Regions from separate parts of the Homo sapiens genome. Here all the other regions are linked to region 1. Evidence: promoter capture Hi-C in 16 types of primary human blood cells and fetal thymus (Javierre and others, 2016). All regions are on one chromosome and are shown on one strand. Each heading gives the region's core, a stretch centred on a gene start or on the middle of the fragment in contact. The rest is flanking DNA. Distances are from core to core; before and after follow the strand shown.

Region 1 (2,700 bases), core at 76-2,575:
CTCGGGAGCTGACCAGCTCCGTGGCTGCTGAAAGCACCGAGCGCGGGGCTAGCGGTGCGGGCGAGCAGGCGGGCGGGCCGCGCTCAAGGTCACCTCGCGGCCCAGAGCCTTGGCGAGGTGGGGAGCCTGGACCTGGCCTAAGGGGGCTGTCTCGGCCTCCCACCCCATCTCCCGGGGGGCGGAGACCCGGGAGCCCAGAGGTGCCCCCCCAACCCGCGGGCCCTCCTCTCCCCTCCCCCTCCCCGCAGCCCGAGGCGCCCGCGCGAGGCTGCGGCCCGCGAAGAAGCGCCGAGAAACAAAGGGACGCGGCAGCAGCGGCGGCGGGCCCGCGGGGCCTCCGGGCGCGCCCCCTCCTCTCCCCTCCCCGCTTGCCGCAAGGTCGACGGGCTCGAGGACGAGACGCCCGCCTCCCGGGTGCGGCCGAGGCCCGGGGCGCGCGATCCGACGCCACCCGCTTTCCCAGGGCTCTCGGGGACGCTTTGTCGCTTTGGCTTGGCCCAGCACCAGTGATCGGGCCCTGCGTTTGCCTGGGCGGCCTGCGGGGTCTGGGCCTGGATGGAGGAAGCATCCTTAGCCGCCGCGGCCCCTCCCCCATCAGGCCTGCTGGAGAGGGGGCAATCCCGCCTCCAGGGCGGCGTCGGACGCCTCCCGAATCGCAGTCAGTCTCCCTAAGGCCCTCTCAGACCAAGCTCTAAGCGCCCTCAGCACTCTGGGCGCGGCCCTGCCCACTCTCAGGCCCCGAGGCTTGGTCCTACCCCCCCAACCCGGGCCTAGCTAGGCCTGGTCCTACCCCCCCCGCCGCACCCGCCCAATCTCCGCGGAGCCTGGGCCCAACTCCTCCCCGTCCCGATTCCCTTTCGGCGACAGGGGAATACCTACAGTGACCATTCTTGTGTGCCCGGCGGGCGCGGTCCGTGTTGAGGGGGGCTCCGGGGGTGGTGCACTCCTAGGGGGGCGCCCGATGCTCACGCTGGGGTCCCGCCCGGGCGGCCTCTGGTGCGGCCGCTGCAGATGTGGCGATGAAGGCGGCGGCTCCCTCGAGGGCCAGGGACGGGCCCGAACCCGGGGATGCGCGCGCGGATGGCCGGGCCCCGGGGTGGCCTGCGGGCGGCAGGGGATGGAAAGAGGGAGCGGGCGCGGGGTTGAGGACGCCCCCTGCGCGGCCCCGCGGGGCCCGGGGAGGTTGCGCTTCCCGACAGAGATCGCGGCGCTCTGCCTTTCGCCGCCGCCCCTCGGTCGGTCCTGTCCGGTCCCGTGTGTTCAAGTCCTCTCCCCTCGCCCACCCTCCCTCCCTCCCTCCGGCCCGCGCTGCGCGCTCCGCGCTCTGGACCGCGCCGCCGCCGCCCCCAGCCCTTTATAGCAGCAGCTGCCAGCGCCGGCGTCGCTCATTGGCTGCGGCGACCGAGCTCCGCCTCCTCGCGGCTCCCGACGGCGCGGCAGGTGGAAGTGAGCGCGCACTGGTCGGGACTCTGAATCCCCCAAAAGCGCATCCTAGGTGCTCGGGTTGCCAGATTTGGGCCCTCCTTCCCTCGAGGCCCTTGCTTCCTACCCTGGCACCCCTTCTTGGGCTGGCTTTCGGGCCAGGAGACGGGCTCCCCTCCTCCGTCCAGCTCCTAGAGCTGGAGGAGCCAACAGAGCGAGGAGGTATTAGTGGCCTGAATATGCGACCTTCCAGAGGTGTTGTCCACTGAGGGAACTGGACAGGGGATCAGGAACCAATATTTTAGTAGGCAGAGGCCTGGGTCCCCAGATTTGGAGGCACCAGTGTAGACCACCTCAAGACCACGGGGGAGGGTGGCTACTGTGGCCCTAGTCTTCTGCAGAAGGAGACTGGGACGCTGTTGGTTTTGAGTGAGCTGGATCCTTCTAGGGTTCAAAAGGTAAGGACTGGCACTCCCCAGTGCAAGGAAACTCCGCACTGCTCCGAAGGGGGTGAAAAGGTTTGGGGCTCAGTGTTCTGGACAATCATCGCTGGAGCCATGCAGCTCTGGGAAACCACGGATCCTTCTTGGACCCCACAGAACTGGGGTGGGTGGATCTGCCACATAAATGTCCTGGCTTTCTAGGCTCGTGATTGGTCCTCCTGACTGTGGAGTCATGCTCGCTCTCTGCTAGGGGGAACCTGGCCTCTCTCTAAGGCGTTGGGGGTGGCGCAGCCTCCTTTGGTGCGCGGGCGCCGGTGCATGTTTACGTCGGGGCGCGGGAACTAGCACACACTGGGGCGGGGTCGCCAGGGCGTGAGGCTTCAGCACCACAGACAGCAATCCGACAGTCCGGTCGAGGGCGCTGCCGGCGAGGTAGCCCAGACCCCCTAACTGGAGAGCGGCAGTCCCCACCCAATCCTCGTTCCTGCACGCCCTTTAGGCTCCAGACTGTCAGAGAGCGCCACCAGCGAGGAGAGCCTAATTTGCCCAATCAGGGGCGGCCCTTGAGATAACCAGTTACTGGAAGATGCCCTAGAGATCGAGCCAATGGGAGTGCGCGCACCAGGGGATGCTGCCACGCCTGGAAAGGGCAGGCCAATCGCAGTGGCCCGCGCAATAGGGGCGGTGGCGGTGCAGATCCCCGGGTGGCCCCTCTTGGGCTCGCCGGGGCGACCTGGCTGCGGGCGCTAGGGGCCCCAAGCGATGGTCTGTTCCCCACCCCGTGTTCCTCCCGGTTTCCGTCATCGGAAACTGAGCTAGGAGGGGGGCTGCTCCT
Region 2 (2,837 bases), core at 338-2,837, 160 kb before region 1:
GTGCCCGCCACCACACACGGCTAATTTTTGTATTTTTAGTAGAGACGGGGTTTTGCCATGTTGGCCAGGCTGGTCTGGAACTCCTGACCTCAAGTGATCCTCCCACCTCAGCCTCCCAAAGTGCTGGGATTACAGGCGTAAGCCACTGCCCCCAGCCAGAAATAAACTTTTTTACCCACACTTCTGACACCAAACATGTGGGGTTTTCCACACCAAGTAATTCTCCAATTCTCTGTGGACACCCGCTGGGTGTTCTACAATTCAGTTCTGACACCAATTACCCAGAGTTGGTGTGTGACCCCACAGATTTAAGGGCTGAGTCCCACAAAACTGAGCTTCCCTCACTTCAGAGGTATCAAGTATTGAGTTCCCAGGTTACCCATATTTCTGTCCAATGTGGCTACAAAGTCAGGGGGGGTTCTCACAAGCCCCCTCCCTTTCAGGTTTGATAATTTGCTAGAATGACTCACGGATCTCAGGCAAGTGTTTTACTTACTACTCCTGATTTATTATAAAGGAGACAACTCAGGCCAGGCGCAGTGGCTTATGCCTGTAATCCCAGCACTCTGGGAGGCCAAGGCGGGCGGATCACGAGGTAAGGAGTCTGAGACCAGCCTGGCCTATATGATGAAACCCCGTCTCTACTAAAAATGCAAAAGTTAGCCGGGCGTGGTGGCACACGCCCTGTAATCCCAGCTACTCCGGAGGCTGAGGCAGAAGAATCGCTTGAACCGGGAGGCGGAGCTTGCAGTGAGCCGAGATCGCGCCACTGCACTCCAGCCTGGGCGACAGAGCGAGACTCTGTCTCAAAACAAACAAAACAAAACAAAACAAAACAAAAAAACAAAAAAAGGAGACAACTCAGGAACAGCCAAATGGAAGTGATAAAGAGGGCAATGTGTGGGGGATGGTGTGCAGCACTTCCACACCCTTTCTTGGGGAGGGGGGCACCACCCTTCCAGCACCTCCATGTGTTCATCAACTCAGAAGCTCTCCAAACCTGTCATTTAGGTTGTATTTTGTTTTGTTTTGTTTTGTTTTTTGAGACGGAGTCTCGCTCTGTCGCCCAGGCTGGAATGCAGTGACGCGATCTTGGCTCACTGCAAGCTCCACCTCCCGGGTTCACGCCATTCTCCTGCCTCAGCCTCCCGCGTAGCTGGGACTACAGGCGCCCGCCACCACGCCCGGCTAATTTTTTTGTTGTATTTTCAGTGGAGACGGGGTCTTACCGTGTTAGCCAGGATGATCTCGATCTCTTGACCTCGTGACCTGCCCGCCTCCGCCTCCCAAGGTGCTGGGATTACAGGCCTGAGCCACTACGCCCGGCCAGGACTTTTTTTTTTTTTTTTGAGACGGAGTTTCTCTCTTGTCATCCAGGCTGGAGTGCAATGGCACGATCTCGGCACACCCCAACTTCTGCCCCACTTGTTCAAGCGATTCTCCCGCCTCAGCCTCCCGAGTAGCTGGGATTACAGGCATGTGCCACCAGGCCCAGCTATTTGTTATATTTTTAGTAGAGATGGGGTTTTGTCATGTTGGCCAGGCTGATCTCAAACTCCTGACCTCAAGTGATCCTCCTGCCTCAGCCTCCCAAAGTGCTGGAATGACAGGCATGAGCCACCACACCTGGCCAATCCTAGCACTTTGGGAGGCCAAGGCGGGAGCATGGCTGGAAGCTGGGAGTTCAAGACCAGCCTGGGCAACATAGCAAGATCCCATCTCTCAATCACTCAATCAGCTGGATGTGGTGGTGCTTGCTTGTAGTTCCAGAAACTCAGGAGGCTGAAGTGGGAGGATCCTTTGAGTCCAGGAGTTCGAGGCTGCAGTGAGCCATGATTGTGCCACTGCACTCCAGCCAGGGCCATACGGCAAGACCTTGTCTCCAAAAAAAAAAAAAAGAAAAGAAAAGAAAAAGAAAAAAGAAATGCTGGGGAGGGAGATTGCAGTACTAAATCAGGGGAGGGGGCAGTGAGAAAGTGAGATTTGCACAGTAGCCCAAAAGAGGAAGTTCAGTTAGGGGAGCTTTGTTGTATTAGTCTGTTTTCCTACTGCTGGAAAGAACTGCCCAAGACTGGGTAATTTATAAAGGAAAGAGGTTTGCCCGTGTACGGTGGTTCACGCCTGTAATCCCAGCATTTTGGGAGGCCAAGGTGGGCAGATCATGAGGTCAGGCGTTCGAGACCAGCCTGGCCAACGTGGTGAAACCCCGTCTCTACTAAAAACACAAAAATTAGCCAGGCGTAGTGGAGTGTGCCTGTAATCCCAGCTACTCGGGAGGCTGAGGCAGGAGAATTGCTTGAACCTGGGAGGCGGAGGTTGCAGTGAGCCAAGATGGCACCACTGCACTCCAGCTGGGTGGCAGAGTAGGACTGAGTCTCAAAAAAAAAAAAACAAAAAAATACCCAAAAAAACATAAGAGGTTTAATTTACTCACAGTTCAACATGGCTGGGGAGGCCTCAGGAAATTTACAATTATAACAGAAGGCAAAGGGGAAGCCAGATACCTTCTTCACAAGGTGGCAGGAAGGAGAAGAGCCGAGAGAAGGCGGAAGAATCCCTTATAAAACCATCAGATCTCGTGAGAACTCACTTGCTATCAGGAGAACAGCATGGGGGAACCGCCCCCAGGATTCAATGACCTCCACCTGGTCTCTCCCTTGACACGTGAGGATTATGGGGATTACAATTCCAGATGAGATTTGGGTGGGGACACAAAGCCAAACCATATCAACTGTGACTACCTTGGGTAAGGGCCATCCAGGCAGAGGCAGGGGGAACATTCTGGGCAAAGGCCTTGGGGCAGGGGCCTGGTATGTTCAGATAGCAGCAAGTAGGCC
Region 3 (2,776 bases), core at 115-2,614, 240 kb before region 1:
CCTGGCGGCTGCTGAAGTTGAGGCTGTGCGGGTACACGTACAGCAGGTTCCTGTGGGGGGCAGGATGGGGGTGTCAGAGGGACAGGGGCCCTGAAGGTGCACATACAAGGCTGGGGTGATGGGACAAGGCTGGCTGGGAGCACAGACAGTCCAGGAAGAGTAGGTCATGAGGCTGGGGCATTGAGGGCCCGGTGAGAGGTAATACAGGTATCAGTCAGGAGATAGGACAGAGGGCAGAGGGTGGGGGACAAGCGAGCACCCTAAAAACACAGATTGGGAACAGTGTGGTAGAGGGTGGGAATACAGAAGGACATTGGAGGCACTCATGGGGCACAGTGACACACAGAAGGCAGAGAATAGCGAGGCACTCAGGGCCAGAGTTCCAAGGTACCTCAGGTGGCCAGTGGTCAAGCCTAAGCCCCACCCAAGGGCCTGACTGCCCTTCCCCCAGGAGGTCACTAGAGTTATGTGGCCTGTTTCTCAGGTGGGGAAACTGAGGCCAGAGTCCGAGTCCTGCCTCCTTCCCCCAGGGGCAACTCTGTGCAAGCCTTGACCCCTCTCTGGGCCTCAGTTTCCCTATGTGTATAATGGGCACTTCAGGCCTTCCAGCTGAGCCTTTGTAATGATACTGATGATGATAAATAACAACAATGACAATAATTGCACCAAACACTATTACTACAACAATGAAATAATCGCGCCTACTGTGTGCCAGGCTCTGTTCTAAGCACTCAACATGAAATAACTCATTTACTTCTCACAAGTAGCTCATGAGGCAGGACTAACATCACCGCCATTTTACAAGCAGGGAAACTGAGGTACTTGCACAATCACCCACGGAGTAAAATGGCAGTCAGTGGTGATCTGGGCATATGCAGGTCTTGGAGATCAGGCTGTGTGACCTTGGGAGAGTCTCTGCCACCTGCACCTGCCCCCTTGGATACTAACCAGGCCAATAAAAGCCCCCACGTGGCAAGTATGTGGGAGGGGAACAAGAGCAGATATTGTAATGGCAGGTCAAACAGCTCAGGGCAAACCATCAATGCTTATAAAATCTTTACTGTTATTACCATCATCATTGCGATGCCTATTCATAGATGGAGAAACAGGCTCAGCATGGTGAGTCTCAGGAACTCCCAGCAGGGTCTGGGGCCCGTCCTCTCCCAATGCCCCCCACCCACACCTGGCCCTGAGCCCCAGGAAGCGTGATCCCGGCGTGGCCTAGCCGGACATTCGCCTGATGCAACTATCGCACCACTGCCAGGCCCTTGTGCAATGCGGGGCACCAGGTCGGCCAGTTAACGATTGACTGGGGATCAGTGGGGGTATGAGGCATAAAAGGCTTCAGTGACAGTGCTGTGGCTATACCTTAGACCCTCAGTCATGCCAGTGCCTGCTCTGTGCCTGCTCTGGGCCCTGGCAATGGTGACCCGGCCTGCCTCAGCGGCCCCCATGGGCGGCCCAGAACTGGCACAGCATGAGGAGCTGACCCTGCTCTTCCATGGGACCCTGCAGCTGGGCCAGGCCCTCAACGGTGTGTACAGGACCACGGAGGGACGGCTGACAAAGGCCAGGAACAGCCTGGGTCTCTATGGCCGCACAATAGAACTCCTGGGGCAGGAGGTCAGCCGGGGCCGGGATGCAGCCCAGGAACTTCGGGCAAGCCTGTTGGAGACTCAGGTGGGCACCGTAGCTGCGACACTGTGGGGTGGCCAGGAGTCCAAAGAGGAGTTCGTGTCTAGGGTAACCAACCATCCTGGTTTGCCCAGGACTGAAGGGATTCCTGGGATACAAGATTTTCAGCGATAAACTCAGGCAAGTCCTTAGGTACACAAAGATGAGTTGGACATCCTACTAGTGACCCACTGTTTATTAAGCAGATGGAGGAGGATATTCTGCAGCTGCAGGCAGAGGCCACAGCTGAGGTGCTGGGGGAGGTGGCCCAGGCACAGAAGGTGCTACGGGACAGCGTGCAGCGGCTAGAAGTCCAGCTGAGGAGCGCCTGGCTGGGCCCTGCCTACCGAGAATTTGAGGTCTTAAAGGTAAGGAGCTCCCCCAACCCTAGTGGGCTGAGACCCTGATTTCCGGCCAGAACTCGCTTCTGCACCTTGAGTCCCAAAGACCTCCCAGATCAGCCTCCCAGCTCTGTGGCCTCTACCCTGCATGTCCCCAGACAAAACTCAAGTCCTTTTGTGTGCCTCAGTTTCCCTTTTGTGTGCCTCAGTTGCAAATAAGGGCAACACCTGATATCTCACAGTAGGGCCAGGTACTCAATGCAGGTAAAATATTCAGCATGGGGCGGGCACACAGTTGGTGCTCAATAAATTCTTTTTTTTTTTTTTTTTGAGACAGAGTCTCACTGTTGCCCAGGCTGGAGTGCAGTGGTGTGATCTTGGCTCACTGCAACCTCCACCTCCTAGGTTCAAGTGATTCTCCTGCCTCAGCCTCCTGAGTAGCTGGAATTACAGGTGCACCAGCTAATTTTTGTATTTTTTAGTAGAGATGGGATTTCACCATGTTGGCCAGGCTGGTCTCGAACTCCTGACCTCAAGGGATCTGCCTGCCTCGGTTTCCCAAAGTGCTGGGATTACAGGTGTGAGCCACTACACCTGGCCAATAAATTCTTACTACTAGAGAAACTGGTAACATTTTGTGAGCACCCAGTAAGTACCCAGCACTGTTCTATGCCCTTTAATAATCCATATGATGGCCGGGCATGGTGGCTCATGCCTGTAATCCCAGCACTTTGGGTAGCTAAGGTGGGTGGAACACTTAA
Region 4 (2,803 bases), core at 187-2,686, 180 kb before region 1:
TGCTGGCACTAGGGAGTCAGGCCAGTAGGCACAGAACTGACAAGGGCCACAGAGTTATGGGCAGGCCACCAAGAGCCCCTGCTACTCCTGTCGAGAACAGCCAGACGCAGAAAAATGAGTGCAGCATAAACCAAAGAGGAAGAATAGTGAAAATATACTTTGCTTTGACACACATAGAAGAACATCTCTTTGGGGACACAGGAAACAGTTAACAGTCATTGGCATGGAGTGGGAGGAAACTTTTGGCTGGGAGGAAGGGGTGGGAGAGAGACTTTTCATGGTCTGTTCTCCTGTGCATGTCAATTTCGAACCACGTGCCTCTATCATCGCTTTGCAAAAGGATTTTTTAAACCTTTATTTAAAAAACAGAAAATTAAATGTGCCCCTTTTGTGCAGACAGAGATTCCGTGGAAGATGATATTCAATTCTTTAATGGAGTTACAGCCACATCGTGGGTGCAGCAGGGTGTAGGCGATTCCAAAGAGCAGATGATTCAAATTCGTGTGCGATGGGTACAGAGAGATACGCTTGGCTCCAGACCCACGCGTCTCCCTGTTTCCCTCTCTTGTGGTGGGGGCACAGTAGCCTTCGTGTGTCTTCCTCTAGCACAGACCCCTGAGCTGAGGGTAGGAAAAATGAAGGCAGCACGAGGGACGCTCCCACCTCCCACTCTATCCTCAAGAACCTCGGCCAATGAACGGGCCACTCTTGCTAGTTGGGGTACTGATCACTTCCTGTCCTCTCTGTGAGGTTGGAGATGTGGCCTTGGAACACACCTTCGTGACCCTGAGGAAGAATTACAGAGGTTACAACGAGCCAGACGACTATTCTACACAGTGGAACTTGGTCATGGAGAAGGTGAGGCTTACTTAAAAAAAAAAAATTGTGGTGTAAAGGTACACAACATGGGCGGGCGAAGTGGCTCACACCTGTAATCCCAGCACTTTGGGAGGCCGAGGTGGGAGGATCACTTGAGGTCAGGAGTTTGAGACCAGCTGAGCCAACATGGTGAAACCCCGTCTCTACTAAAAATACAAAAATTACCTCCGTGTGGTGGCAGGCATCTGTAGTCTCAGCTACTCAGGAGGCTGAGGCAGGAGAATAGCTCGAACCCAGGAGGTAGAGGTTGCAGTGAGTTGAGATGGCACCACTGCATCCCAGCCTGGGCGACAGAGGGAGGCTCTGTTTAAAAAAAAAAAAAAAAGCCAGTCACAGTGGCACATGCTTGTGGTCCCAGCTACTAAGGAGGCTGAGGTGGGAGGATCACTTGAGTCCAGGAAGTCAAGGCTTCAGTGAACTATGATGGTGCCACTGCACTCTAGCCTGGGTGACAGAGCAAGACCCTGTATCTTGTAAACATGAAATGTATCGTTTAACATTTTTTTTTTTTTGAGTTGGAGTCTCATTCTGTTGCCTAGGCTGGAGTGCAGTGGCGCAATCTCAGCTCACTGCAACCTCCACCTCCCAGGTTCAAGCAATTCTCCTGTCTTAGCCTCCCAAGTAGCTGGGATTAGAGGCGCCCACCACCACACCTGGCTAATTTTTGTATTTTTAGTAGAGACGGGGTTTCACCATATGGGTCAGGCTGGTCTCAAACTCCTGACCTCAGGTGATCCACCCGCCTTGGCATCCCAAAGTTCTGGGATTATAGGCGTGAGCCACCGTGCCCGGCCCCATTTAACAATTTTGAAGTGTGCAGTTCAGCGGCATTAAGCACATTCGCATTGTTGTGCGACCATCACCACCATCTCTAGAACTTCCTTATCTTCCCAAACTAAAACTCTGTCCCATGAAACGCTCACTCCACATTCTCCCTCCCCAAGCCCCTGGCACCCACCATGCTCCTGTCTGTCTATATGAATCTGACGACTCTAGGGACCTCCTAGGAGTGAAATCAGGCAGTGTGTGTCTTTACTAAAAATACAAACATTAGCCAGGCATGGTGGCGTGTGCCTGTAATCCCAGCTACTCGGGAGGCTGAGGCAGGAGAATCGCTTGAATCCGGGAGGCAGAGGCTGCGGTGAGCCAGGATCATGCCACTGCATTGCAGCCTGGGCAACAGAGTGAGGCTCCATCTCAAAAAAAAAAAAAAAAAAAAAAAGGGATTTGCTAGATTCTATGGCAATTCTGCTTTGTATATATACATATATATTTATATACATATGTATATAAATATATATATACACACATACATATATATATACACATACATATATATATATATATATACACACACACACACACACACACACACACATACATATATATATTCACATATATATTTTTGAGACAGGATCTCACTCTGTTGCCCAGGCTGGAGTGCGGTAAGGGGATCATGGCTCACTGCAACCTCTGCCTCCCAGGCTGAAGCAACCTTCCCACCTCAGCCTCTTGAGTAGCTGGGACTGCAGGTTCGTGCCACCATGCCTGGCTAATTTTTTTTTTTTTTTTTGTAGATATGGGGTTTCACCATGTTGCTCAGGCTGATCTTAAAAACTCCTGGCCTCAGCCGCCCCGTCCGGGAGGTGAGGGGCGCCTCTGCCCGGCCGCCCCTACTGGGAAGTGAGGAGCCCCTCTGCCCCGCCACCACCCCGTCTGGGAGGTGTGCCCAACAGCTCATTGAGAACGGGCCAGGATGACAATCGCGGCTTTGTGGAATAGAAAGGGGGGAAAGGTGGGGAAAAGATTGAGAAATCGGATGGTTGTCGTGTCTGTGTAGAAAGAAGTAGACATGGGAGACTTTTCATTTTGTTCTGTACTAAGAAAAATTCTTCTGCCTTGGGATCCTGTTGATCTGTGACCT

Evidence for each region. The method cuts DNA at HindIII sites, captures the fragments that hold promoters and counts their contacts. A CHiCAGO score of 5 or more calls a contact.
Region 2: a fragment that was not itself captured here is called in contact with the fragment with the promoter of ELAVL3 in region 1 in 2 of 17 cell types (erythroblasts and endothelial precursors); the score reaches 6.1 in erythroblasts.
Region 3: the fragment with the promoter of ANGPTL8 here is called in contact with the fragment with the promoter of ELAVL3 in region 1 in 10 of 17 cell types (neutrophils, M2 macrophages, M0 macrophages and 7 more); the score reaches 25.1 in neutrophils.
Region 4: a fragment that was not itself captured here is called in contact with the fragment with the promoter of ELAVL3 in region 1 in 2 of 17 cell types (erythroblasts and endothelial precursors); the score reaches 7.3 in erythroblasts.

The regions. Positions count from the first base shown.
Region 1 is chr19:11,479,721-11,482,420 of GRCh38, forward strand. It overlaps ELAVL3 (ELAV like RNA binding protein 3), which reads right to left and starts at 1,326. Exons shown (of 7, transcript NM_001420.4): 1 at 880-1,326. The coding sequence starts at 888. RefSeq lists silencers at 1-38, 2,413-2,662, 2,693-2,700. The HindIII fragment of the contact is 20,383 bases long and covers 1-2,700 here.
Region 2 is chr19:11,318,790-11,321,626 of GRCh38, forward strand. It overlaps TSPAN16-AS1 (TSPAN16 antisense RNA 1), which reads right to left and starts at 2,536. Exons shown (of 3, transcript NR_187778.1): 1 at 2,435-2,536. It also overlaps a transcript of TSPAN16 not described here. The HindIII fragment of the contact is 4,796 bases long and covers 1-2,837 here.
Region 3 is chr19:11,238,255-11,241,030 of GRCh38, forward strand. It overlaps ANGPTL8 (angiopoietin like 8), which reads left to right and starts at 1,365. Exons shown (of 4, transcript NM_018687.7): 1 at 1,365-1,680; 2 at 1,881-2,042. The coding sequence starts at 1,384. DOCK6 (dedicator of cytokinesis 6) reads right to left here. Exons shown (of 48, transcript NM_020812.4): 15 at 1-50. The HindIII fragment of the contact is 20,410 bases long and covers 1-2,776 here.
Region 4 is chr19:11,300,451-11,303,253 of GRCh38, forward strand. TSPAN16 (tetraspanin 16) reads left to right here. Exons shown (of 7, transcript NM_001282509.2): 4 at 751-858. It overlaps TSPAN16-AS1 (TSPAN16 antisense RNA 1), which reads right to left. Exons shown (of 3, transcript NR_187778.1): 2 at 1,045-1,182; 3 at 341-786. Among named protein-coding and RNA genes, the nearest start is that of TSPAN16, 5.7 kb to the left of the region's middle. The HindIII fragment of the contact is 4,606 bases long and covers 1-2,803 here.